Linked DNA regions of Homo sapiens: all the other regions are linked to region 3. Evidence: promoter capture Hi-C in 16 types of primary human blood cells and fetal thymus (Javierre and others, 2016). All regions are on one chromosome and are shown on one strand. Each heading gives the region's core, a stretch centred on a gene start or on the middle of the fragment in contact. The rest is flanking DNA. Distances are from core to core; before and after follow the strand shown. Region 1 has its middle 16 kb from the start of LINC02858. Region 2 overlaps CLEC19A (C-type lectin domain containing 19A). Region 3 holds the start of ITPRIPL2 (ITPRIP like 2).

Evidence for each region. The method cuts DNA at HindIII sites, captures the fragments that hold promoters and counts their contacts. A CHiCAGO score of 5 or more calls a contact.
Region 1: a contact is called between a fragment that was not itself captured here and the fragment with the promoter of ITPRIPL2 in region 3, in 2 of 17 cell types (naive B cells and M0 macrophages). The highest score is 8.8, in naive B cells.
Region 2: a fragment that was not itself captured here is called in contact with the fragment with the promoter of ITPRIPL2 in region 3 in 1 of 17 cell types (M0 macrophages); the score reaches 5.0 in M0 macrophages.

What each region holds. Positions count from the first base shown.
Region 1 is chr16:19,348,919-19,351,951 of GRCh38, reverse strand. No RefSeq gene overlaps it. Among named protein-coding and RNA genes, the nearest start is that of LINC02858, 16 kb to the right of the region's middle. The HindIII fragment of the contact is 187 bases long and covers 1,379-1,565 here.
Region 2 is chr16:19,286,290-19,289,461 of GRCh38, reverse strand. All of the region lies in intron 1 of CLEC19A (C-type lectin domain containing 19A), which reads right to left. Among named protein-coding and RNA genes, the nearest start is that of CLEC19A, 2.1 kb to the right of the region's middle. The HindIII fragment of the contact is 4,175 bases long and covers 1-3,172 here.
Region 3 is chr16:19,112,322-19,115,364 of GRCh38, reverse strand. ITPRIPL2 (ITPRIP like 2) reads right to left here and starts at 1,401. Exons shown (of 1, transcript NM_001034841.4): 1 at 1-1,401. The coding sequence starts at 903. RefSeq lists silencers at 840-1,209, 1,300-1,399. The HindIII fragment of the contact is 2,659 bases long and covers 1-1,826 here.

The DNA of each region.
Region 1 (3,033 bases), core at 223-2,722, 240 kb before region 3:
TTCTTTCAGTCAGCGTAATGTTTTCAAGGTTCATCCATGTTGTAGCATGTATCAGTACTTCATTCCTTTTTAATAAGAAGGAATCTTATTATTATTATTATTATTTCTGAGACGGAGCCTTGCTCTGTCGCCCAGGCTGGAGTGCAGTGGTGCGATCTCGGCTCACAGCAACCCCTGCCTCCTGGGTTCAAGCCATTCTCCTGCCTCAGCCTCCCAAGTAGCTGGGACTACAGGCGTGTGCCACCACACCCAGCTAATTTTTGTATTTTTAGTAGAGATGGGGCTTCACCACGTTGGTCAGGCTGGTCTTGAACTGCTGACTTCAAGTGATCTGCTCGCCTTGACCTCCCAAAGTGCTGGCATTACAGGCGTGAGCCACCGCGCCCGGCCAAGAAGGAATATTATTGCATAATGATATTAACGCATATTGCAAGGCATAGGTATCTCTCATTTTGATTATCCATTCATCAGTTTATGGATATTTGGGTTGTTTTCACCTTCTGGCTATGAACATTTGTGGATAAGTTTTTGTTTAAATCCATGTTTTCAATTTTTTTGGCATATATGGTAATTCTGTGCTTAACTTATTGAGGAACTGCCACACGGTGACAGTCCCACAGTGCCTGCATAATTTTGCATTCCTACCAGCAGCATATGGGGGCTCCAATTTCCACACCCTTGTCAATACTTGTTCTTGTCCTTTAAAAAAATTATAGCCATCCTAGTGGGTGAGTAAAAGACTTTCTGTTGGCTGGGCTCAGTGGCTCATGCCTATAATCCCAACAGTTTGGGTGGCTGAGGCAGGCAGATTGCTTGAGTTCAGGAGTTCAAGACCAGCCTGGGCAACATGGTGAAAACCTGTCTCTACTAAAAATACAAAAAATTAGCCAGGTGTGGTGGTGCGTGCCTGTAGTCCCAGCTACTTGGGAGGCTGAGGTGGGAGGATTGCTTGAGCCCAGGAAGTTGAGGCTGCAGTGAGCTGTGATAGCACCATTGCACTCCAGCCTGAGCAACTGGAGTGAGACCCTGTCTCACAAAAACAAAAAACCTCAACTTTCTGTCTAAACTCTGTCTCCCCTGCCTTTCTCCCAATTTCTCAAAGAACTAATATAATTTTGCACAATAATTTTTTAAGCTATCTATGGTTTAGTCTATCAATTGTGATTCTTTTGGTTGCAAGTAACAGGAAACCAACTCAAACCAGGTCAAACAATAAAAGCCAGCTTCAGAGACACTTCTGGTGTGGTTTGATCAAGATTCCAGCTCTGTTTCACTGCAGTTCTTCTGGCACTGCCTTCTCCGTAAGTTGGATTCATCCACAAACTGGCTTTCTCCAGGGCTTTAAGGTAGCTATCAACAACAAACAAGGTTACAAGCTTCTTTATTCATATCTGAGGAGGGCGAGTCACTGCCCTTAATTGATGAATACAAATCCTAACTCCGTTGATTGGACCAGTCTTAAACCAATTCTCCTAATCGTGGATCACTGAGCTGATTCGCTTAGGCTAGGCCTGGGTTACTTGAACCAGTCAAGGGCAAGTCTGATGGAAATACCCTGATAAGCTTGGACCCATCAAGTCCCACCCTTGGATTTGAGATTTAGGTCAATTCCATCCACCACAGCTTTTAGACAATGAGGGAAAAGGAAAAAGGAAATCGATGTCCGCTCTATTGCTATTTGCTTTGTTAGAGGATTTGGTGAAAAGAAGTCCATTTGGTAGAATCTTTTTTCTTTTCTTTTCTTTCTTTCTTTTTTTTTTTCGAGATGGAGTCTCGCTCTGTTGCCTAGGCTGGAGTGCAGTGGCACGAATTCGGCTCACTGCAACCTCCACCTCCCAGGTTCAAGCAATTCTCCTGCCTCAGCCTCCTGAGTAGCTGGGACTACATATGCGTGCCACCACACCTGGCTAATTTTTTGTATTTTAAGTTGAGACGGAGTTTCACCGTGTTAGCCAGGATGGTCTCCATCTCCTGACCTTGTGATCCATCCGCCTCGGCCTCCCAAAGTGCTGGGATTACAGGCGTGAGCCACCACGCCTGGCCCATTTGGTAGAATCTTAATGTCCATCTGCTAGAGTTATGGTCAAATTGAAGTGGACTGGCGGCCTTTCTGTTATAATGATTCTAAATAGCATTATTAATACTTAGTGTCTTAAACCTTTATATATCTTAAAACTTATTTGTGGGTATTATCAGTATTCCCACTTTACCGATGAGGTTTGTAAGGTTGACAAATCTGAAAGATTCTATCACCTTGAACCAAGACGGGATATATGTGTGTTCTTTCTAGGCATATTCTGACAGCTCAGCAGAGTCGGCTAAGATGTGTGGGCACCTGGACAGGCTAATGTTGAGGTATCCTATTGAGTCTGGCGGTCAGGGTTAAAAACCTGGCCCCATCACCTACCAGGTGGTGACCTTGAGCAAGTTACTAGCACTTTGTGCCTCAGTACTTTGGCAATAACAAATAGTACCTACCTTGTAGAATTGTTAATGAAGATTACATCATTCATATACATGGTAAGAGCCCTGTTAATCTTTGTAAAAAAAAAGTCTTTGTAAAAAATAATGACACTTTTCTCTATCTGGTTACATTTCCAGGGATGTTTTAGCACCATCCTTGAGGTTTGGCACCTGCTGTTCCATCCCTTAATCCAGTTCAGGCTGCAACCTGGACCTTCTCCAACCCCCAGCCACTTTGCTAATCAATATCTTATCGCATCGCATCTCAGTCTGGGCTCTCCCAGACCAGGCAGGGAGCCCCTAGGTCCTGCCAGCCTGCTGCCACCGTCTGCATGGCTCTTAGCTGGGGAGACAGAAACCAAATCCTTCCCAAAGATGCTGGGAAATTAGTTTAGCACCGTCTGCCGGTGTGCGGTGACTCAGAGGCAGCCAGCCCAGCGGGGCTTATGGGCTCCAGGGTTTGAACAAGATTGATGTTGTCGTGAATGCAAAGCAGGCTGAGAGAGCCAGGGGGGCTGGTAGGCAGGGCAGGCAAGAGCCCTCTGTTTACTCCTAGCTCCCCTTCTAGGT
Region 2 (3,172 bases), core at 541-3,040, 170 kb before region 3:
AAGATATCTTCTTTCTGGTCTTAGTTTTCTCATTTGTGAAATAAATCTATTAAACACCAAATGTAACAATTAAGCAAATAAGTCGATGTTTCCTGGGTGCCTATTTGGCTTGAGGTCTGTGTCCTTAGGTTGCTCTCAGTCTGGAAGGAGGAACATGCACATGGCAGAGTCATCGCATACTAAGTATTCTAGAAGTATGTACAAAGTGCTTGCTCTGTGACCATAGAGGAGGAGGGGGAACTGGATAGAATGTCCAAGGGACACTTTAGGATCCGGGCTGCTCTAGGAGGTAGGAACACCGTTGCCTATGTCTCTATGCTCCAACTTCAGAGCTTGGACTCTGGAGTCAGATGGTCCTAGTGGGAAACTCAGCTCTTTGTGCCTCAGTTTTCTAATCTGTACAATGGGCATGATCATAGTGCCTACTTCACAGAAAAGCCAGTTCCAGCTCAGAGGTAGAGACTCTAGTAAGTATTAGATATTATTACAGTAGAAACAGTCTGGGTCACAGAACCTTCCCAGAGCTGAGAGTGCAATGCCAGGCTCTTGGATGGGTGAGGAAGAGGCTACATAACCTGACTTATTCCCCTTCTACGCTTCTGAAGCCCTGCAGAAGCAGATCCTGAGCTTCAAAACACTTTGCTATAAATTTCCTTTGCTATAGAGAGTTCTTGGGCTCAGGAGTCAGGGAAAGGAAACTTTTTGATGGTCGAAGAAGAATAATAAATGTTTACGTAGCTCTTACTGGGTGCCAGACACTGTTCTGAGGACTTTACATTCATTAATCCACTTAAACAATGAGATCAAAGGCAGATTCAGAGAAAAGGTTTTGGGAAAAGGATTTAGTCTGTCTAAATCCTCCCAAGTCTCTAAGAGATGTCTAAAAAGTTTTTTTTCCTCCAAAACATAGGGGGTGGCTGAGTTGTGCTATTTGCGTATATTTGCATATGCAAGGGGTGGGTGATGAAAGGTCTGGAGTAGTGGGATGAATGACCCATGACCTGTGCCCTGTTATGCATTGTACCTAAAGGCTGGGGGTCCACAGAAGAAGATGAAAAACCAAGCCTATTCTCAATAAGGAGGACCTTGGAGGTACATGTATTCTCATGGTCGGCCGGGGCCCACAGAGACCCCTAAATCCTCCCTACAACATACCAACACACACGCTCCTGCCCATATGCACCCATAAACTCACACACATTCCCTCTGTGTTGAAATCACTTTCCTCTAGAGAATCTATCTGCATAGGCTGAAACTGGGCTTCCTGTAGGGCTGGGAGCCTGGGAAGCAGTTGAACTGCCACTTGGACAGTGATGACCATGGTTGGCTCAATTGGCCTCTGTAGCCTCAGTTTCCATAGCCTTAATATGGAAAGGTTGGGCTGAGTGGATCTTTAAGACCCATCCTTCCATTTCCAAACTGCGAGCTCTCCCAGGTAGCTGAGATTGACACAATCTCAGTCCCCTTATCTATAGAGTAGGGATGAGGCTTGGGGACTGATGTTCAGAAGTTCCTTTCAATGTTGAAGACTTTTGTCAGAATAGAAAACTGTCTCCTGGCCAATTCTAGTATAACATCAACAACCACAGTGGCAAACATAGTAATGGCAATAACTCATTTTTTAAATGCTTCCTATGTGCTAAGCACTTCACCTGCACGAGCTCATTGAAGATCTCCAAAACCCTTGATAAGGACCCTTGTTATCCCCACTTGGGGCTCAGAGAGGTGAGGAAACTTGAGTCTCAGAGAGGTCCCATGGGCACAAGCTAGTGAAGGACAGAAAATACCCCTAGTTACTCCCGCTTTCAAACTCAGTCTTGGCCCCTTCCCACTTTTGCTGGGCAGAAAGGCAAGATCTTGGGATATACGAGGCGCAGTCTGCAAGGATATTTTGTTCAACTTCTTTCCTACTTGCTTATTGTATTGGTGAGGAAACTGAGGTCCGAGAGTAAGGAGGCAAGTCACTGCTATGAATGGAATGTCTGTGTCTCTCCTCTTCCCTGCCCCCAATTCATATGTTAAAGCTCTGACTCCCAATGTGATGGTATTGGGAGGGGGGACCTTTGGGAAGTGATTAGATTTAGATGGGATCCCATCCTTATGATGGGATTAGTGTGCTTATAAGAGGAAGAGACCAGAGCTTTCTCTTACTCTGCCATGTGAGGGTACAGTGAGAAGGCGGCCATCTGCAAGCCAGGAAGAGAGTCCTCACCAGGAATAAAATCTGCTGGCATCCTGATCTTGAACTTCCCAGCCTCCAGAACTGTGAGAAATAAATGTTTGTTGCTTAAGCTCCCCAGTCTGTGATATTCGCAGCCTGAGCTGATGAATACACTCAGAGAGTTTAGGACAGAACTGAAACCCCTTGCCCAAATGAGCTAAGACTATCCCTTATTGTTACCACTAGGGATGCTAGATTAACAAAAAAAAAAAAAAAAAAGAAGGATACCTAGTTAAATTTGATTTCAGGTAAACAAACAGATAATTTTTAGTATAAATACGTCCCATGTAATATTTGGGGCATGCTTACACTAAGAAATAATTTATTAATATTTATTTATTGGTATTTTATCTGACAACCCTATCAACCCTCTGTTTAAAGTCACTCTAACACTATCACAACCCAATAATTTGGCCTTATGAGAATCTCCATCTAGGTATTTCATTATTAGTTTTACTTGAACGGGGATTTAAAAATGATATCTCTGCCACTGCTATGATAAATAAATCCATATATGAACATAAACAAGCCTGGAAAGAACCTGGTAGAGGTGACAGTCAAGACTCTTGGCCACCAAATTATAGGATTCAGAACTCTTCTCATCCAGATGAGGGTCCCCCAGAATCAGTAACCCAGCCTTCCTATTGCAAAGTGGAAGAAGTTGAGCTCATTTGAAGACCCTCACCCTCCATATGGGACACTGGGAGGCCACATGCCCAAGGCTGACAGGTTCTCATCCCTGGGGATGCCCCACAAGGCTGGGGGTTGCTGGGCCAGGCCTCCAGGGAGGCCATTAGAGGGACAAGTCTCCCTCCCTGCGCACCTAACCTCTGGTGGCACTGCAGCAGCTCTGAAAGCTCCCTGGGAAGGCTGTCACAGCCAAGGTGGGGTTGGGGCCCAGATGCCAAATCCCTCACAAAACTACCATGTTCAGATCTTCCTGTAGTGCCA
Region 3 (3,043 bases), core at 152-2,651:
GCAGCAGCCGTAGTCAGTGCGGCAGGGCAAGATGTGTAAGGTGGGGGGCTGTTCCAGGCCACCTGGGGTCAAGGTGACCCGACAGCGCCCCTCCAGGCTGTAACGCACAGTGGCCAAGGAGCGCTGCAGATGCGACTGGAACCAGCGCAGCACCAGAGTAGCAGAGAGGTGACGCCGCCCGCGCACATCCACGCAGAAGGCATCAGCAAAGGGTTTGCAGTCCCGAAGCCAGTGGCCCCCCGAGGCCCCCGATGGTGAGGGTGGTGCCTTGAGGGCGCACAAGAAGCAGCCGCGGAAGGCCGGGGCCAGCGCTGGCTCCTCGCCCAGGCTCCGTGGCTCCAGCGCCACAAGCGGCGGGAGGCGCAGTGGCACCAGCACGTCGAAGCTGTCGGGCCGGCGGATTTTATGTTGCTCGTAGGCGCTGCCCACCTGGATGAAGTCTCCGCGGAAGGCCAAGGCCAGCGCTCCCCCAGGAATGAGACCGGGGGACCCCCGGGCGCGGCCAGCCCGCACCAGCTCGCCCACGATCCGGCTCACGTGCGCCTTGCTGTGGCCCAACACGTGCGGAGACAGGCGCACCTCATGCTCGTAGTAACTCTCCAGCAGGATGCTGAGGCCCGGCTCTCGGAAGTGTCTCGAGGAGAAGGCGGCGTGACCCTCCAGACGGGGAGACCCGGGCAGGAAGCGCTGCCGGACAGCGTGGCGACAGCGCAGGAGGACATAGCTGAGGAGGAGCAGGACGGCCACCTTAAGCAACGGGAAGCCGCCATCCACGCCGTCGGCGGGCTCGGCCCGGGCGCCCCCGCTTCCCCGCAGGACATGGTAGAGGCACACCAGGGCGGTGCACAGGCCGGTCACCAGGGGCCAGAAGACGCGTAGATTGAGGGTGTAGTGCACCGACATGCCGGGCGCCCGGGGCGGCGGTGGCCGAGCAGCCCAGGGGGCAAGCCCCGGCGGCGACCCAAGCCCAGCATGCGCACAGCGCCCGGGCAGCCCCGCTGTCCCCGTCTCCTCCTCCGCGGCGGCTTCCCGAACGCAGGCCCGAGGGAGGCCGCCCTCCAGCTCGGCCTCCTCTCCCAGCTCAAGTGTTCCTTCCAGCTGCGGCCCGCCCTGCGCTCTCGGGCCCCGGGCCGCGCCCTGCCCCGGCTGCGCGCTGAGTCCGGCCCAGCGGCCCTCCCCGCCCGGCGCCCCCGCGCGCCGCCGTCGGCCAGCTTCTGGCCCGGCCTGGCTCGCCTCCTACCCTGGGCGGCCCTCCTGGCTCTCCCGCCGCTCCTCTCCGCGCCTGACCCTGTTACTCGGACCCCGGGAGTTTCCTCTTCCGAGGGGGAGGCGAGGCCGCGCCAGCTAGCGGGGAGGAAATGCCGGAGTCTGGAGCCGAGCGTGGAGCTGGCGAGCCGGGTCGGCCCCCTCCCGGGCCTCCGCCTTAAAGCGACGCGGGGCGGCGGGAGGGACTTCAGGACGCTCTTGGAACTGGCCTCCCGCGGCCCACCCCCATCCTCCCTCCCCGAAGGCAGAATTGGGAAGGCCCTGATTCCGGGGCGGTAGCTTCGTCCAGGGAGCCTCTGGAGTTGCGCTCCCTTGAAGTTATACTGGGACGTTGAAAAGGAGAAAAGGGCGCACAGCCAGACTGTCCAGTCCTCCCCACCCCCACCGCACAAGCTGCGGTGGCGTGGCAGGCCCTGGCACAGGAGTGGCCCTTGCCGTCTGCCGCAGTCGTCTGTTCAAACCAGTATTCACCGAGCACCTACCATGTGCCAGGTCGGAGCCACAGTGCTGGGGAAATCATAGTTGACAAGATGGACAAGGTTTCTGTCCTTCGTGAAGCTTACAGCCTTGTAAAAATGGGAATCAAAAAAGGAAGGGGCTGGGCGCAGTGTCTCACGCCTGTAATCCCAGCACTTTGAGAGGCCGAAGTGGGCGGATCATTTAAGGTCAGTAGTTCGAGACTAGCCTGGCCAACATGGTGAGACCCCCCCCCCCGCCCCCCATCTCTACTAAAAATACAAAAATTAGCCAGGCGTAGTGGCACGCGCCTGTAATCCCAGCTGTTCGGGAGGTTCAGGCAGGAGAATCGCTTGAATCCGGGAGGCGGAGGCTGCCGTGAGCCGAGATCGCGCCACTGTACTCCAGCCTGGGTGACAGAGTGAGACTCCGTCTCAAAAAAAAAAAAAAAAAAAAAAAAAGTGGGGGGAAGGATTCCACAGCAAGAAAACGCTCTAAAATAAACAAAAGTGCCCGAGGGAGTGAGAAGGTGCTGGCTACCCTGTGGAAACCAGAGGATGACAGGGGTGACATTTGGCCTGAGACTTCATCGGAACATGCTGGTTCACCCCTGTAATCCCAGCACTTTGGGAAGCCGAGGCGGCGAGAAGATCGCTTGAGTGAGGCCAGGAATTCGAGGCTGCAGTGAGCTATGATAGCATCATTGCACTCCAGCCTGAGTGACAGAGCAAGACTCTTGTCTCTGAAAAAATAAAATAAATAAAATGAAATGAAATTAAAATAAAATTATTTTCCCAGTGGAGGAAAGGGGCACAAACAGGTTCAGCTCAGGCAGGTTCAGCTGCCCCCCTTCCCCCCTCCCCCACAAGGTTACACAGCCTTTGTAGAGCTGGGCAGAAACCAAGGGGTGGAACTCCCAGGAGGGGGCCCAGGGAAGGTCTCTTCCTCATCTGCTGGGAATTTTGGGGGTCCTTTGTCTGGGTCTACATTGGAACCTCAGTCCTAGGAAGCTTGTTTTGTTTCATAACAGGGAGCACTTCCTGAAATAATCTGATCTATTTAAATAATTGTCTTTCTTTATTCACACTCATTACACCTTCTTTGCTGGCACTGACCTTTAAAGAGAGCAAGGGTGAATATATTAAAACATGTTAGAACCCAGCTGCCACCTGGGAACCAGGACTCAAAAGATGGCTTCTGGGTTGTTCCCAGTAAATCCTAAATTGGGCCCCTGAGAGCTAAGCAGATCTGCCTTCAGATCCCATCTACTAATATTAGCTATGAGATCATCATCTACCAGTCAAGATTCTTAGGTTTGCAA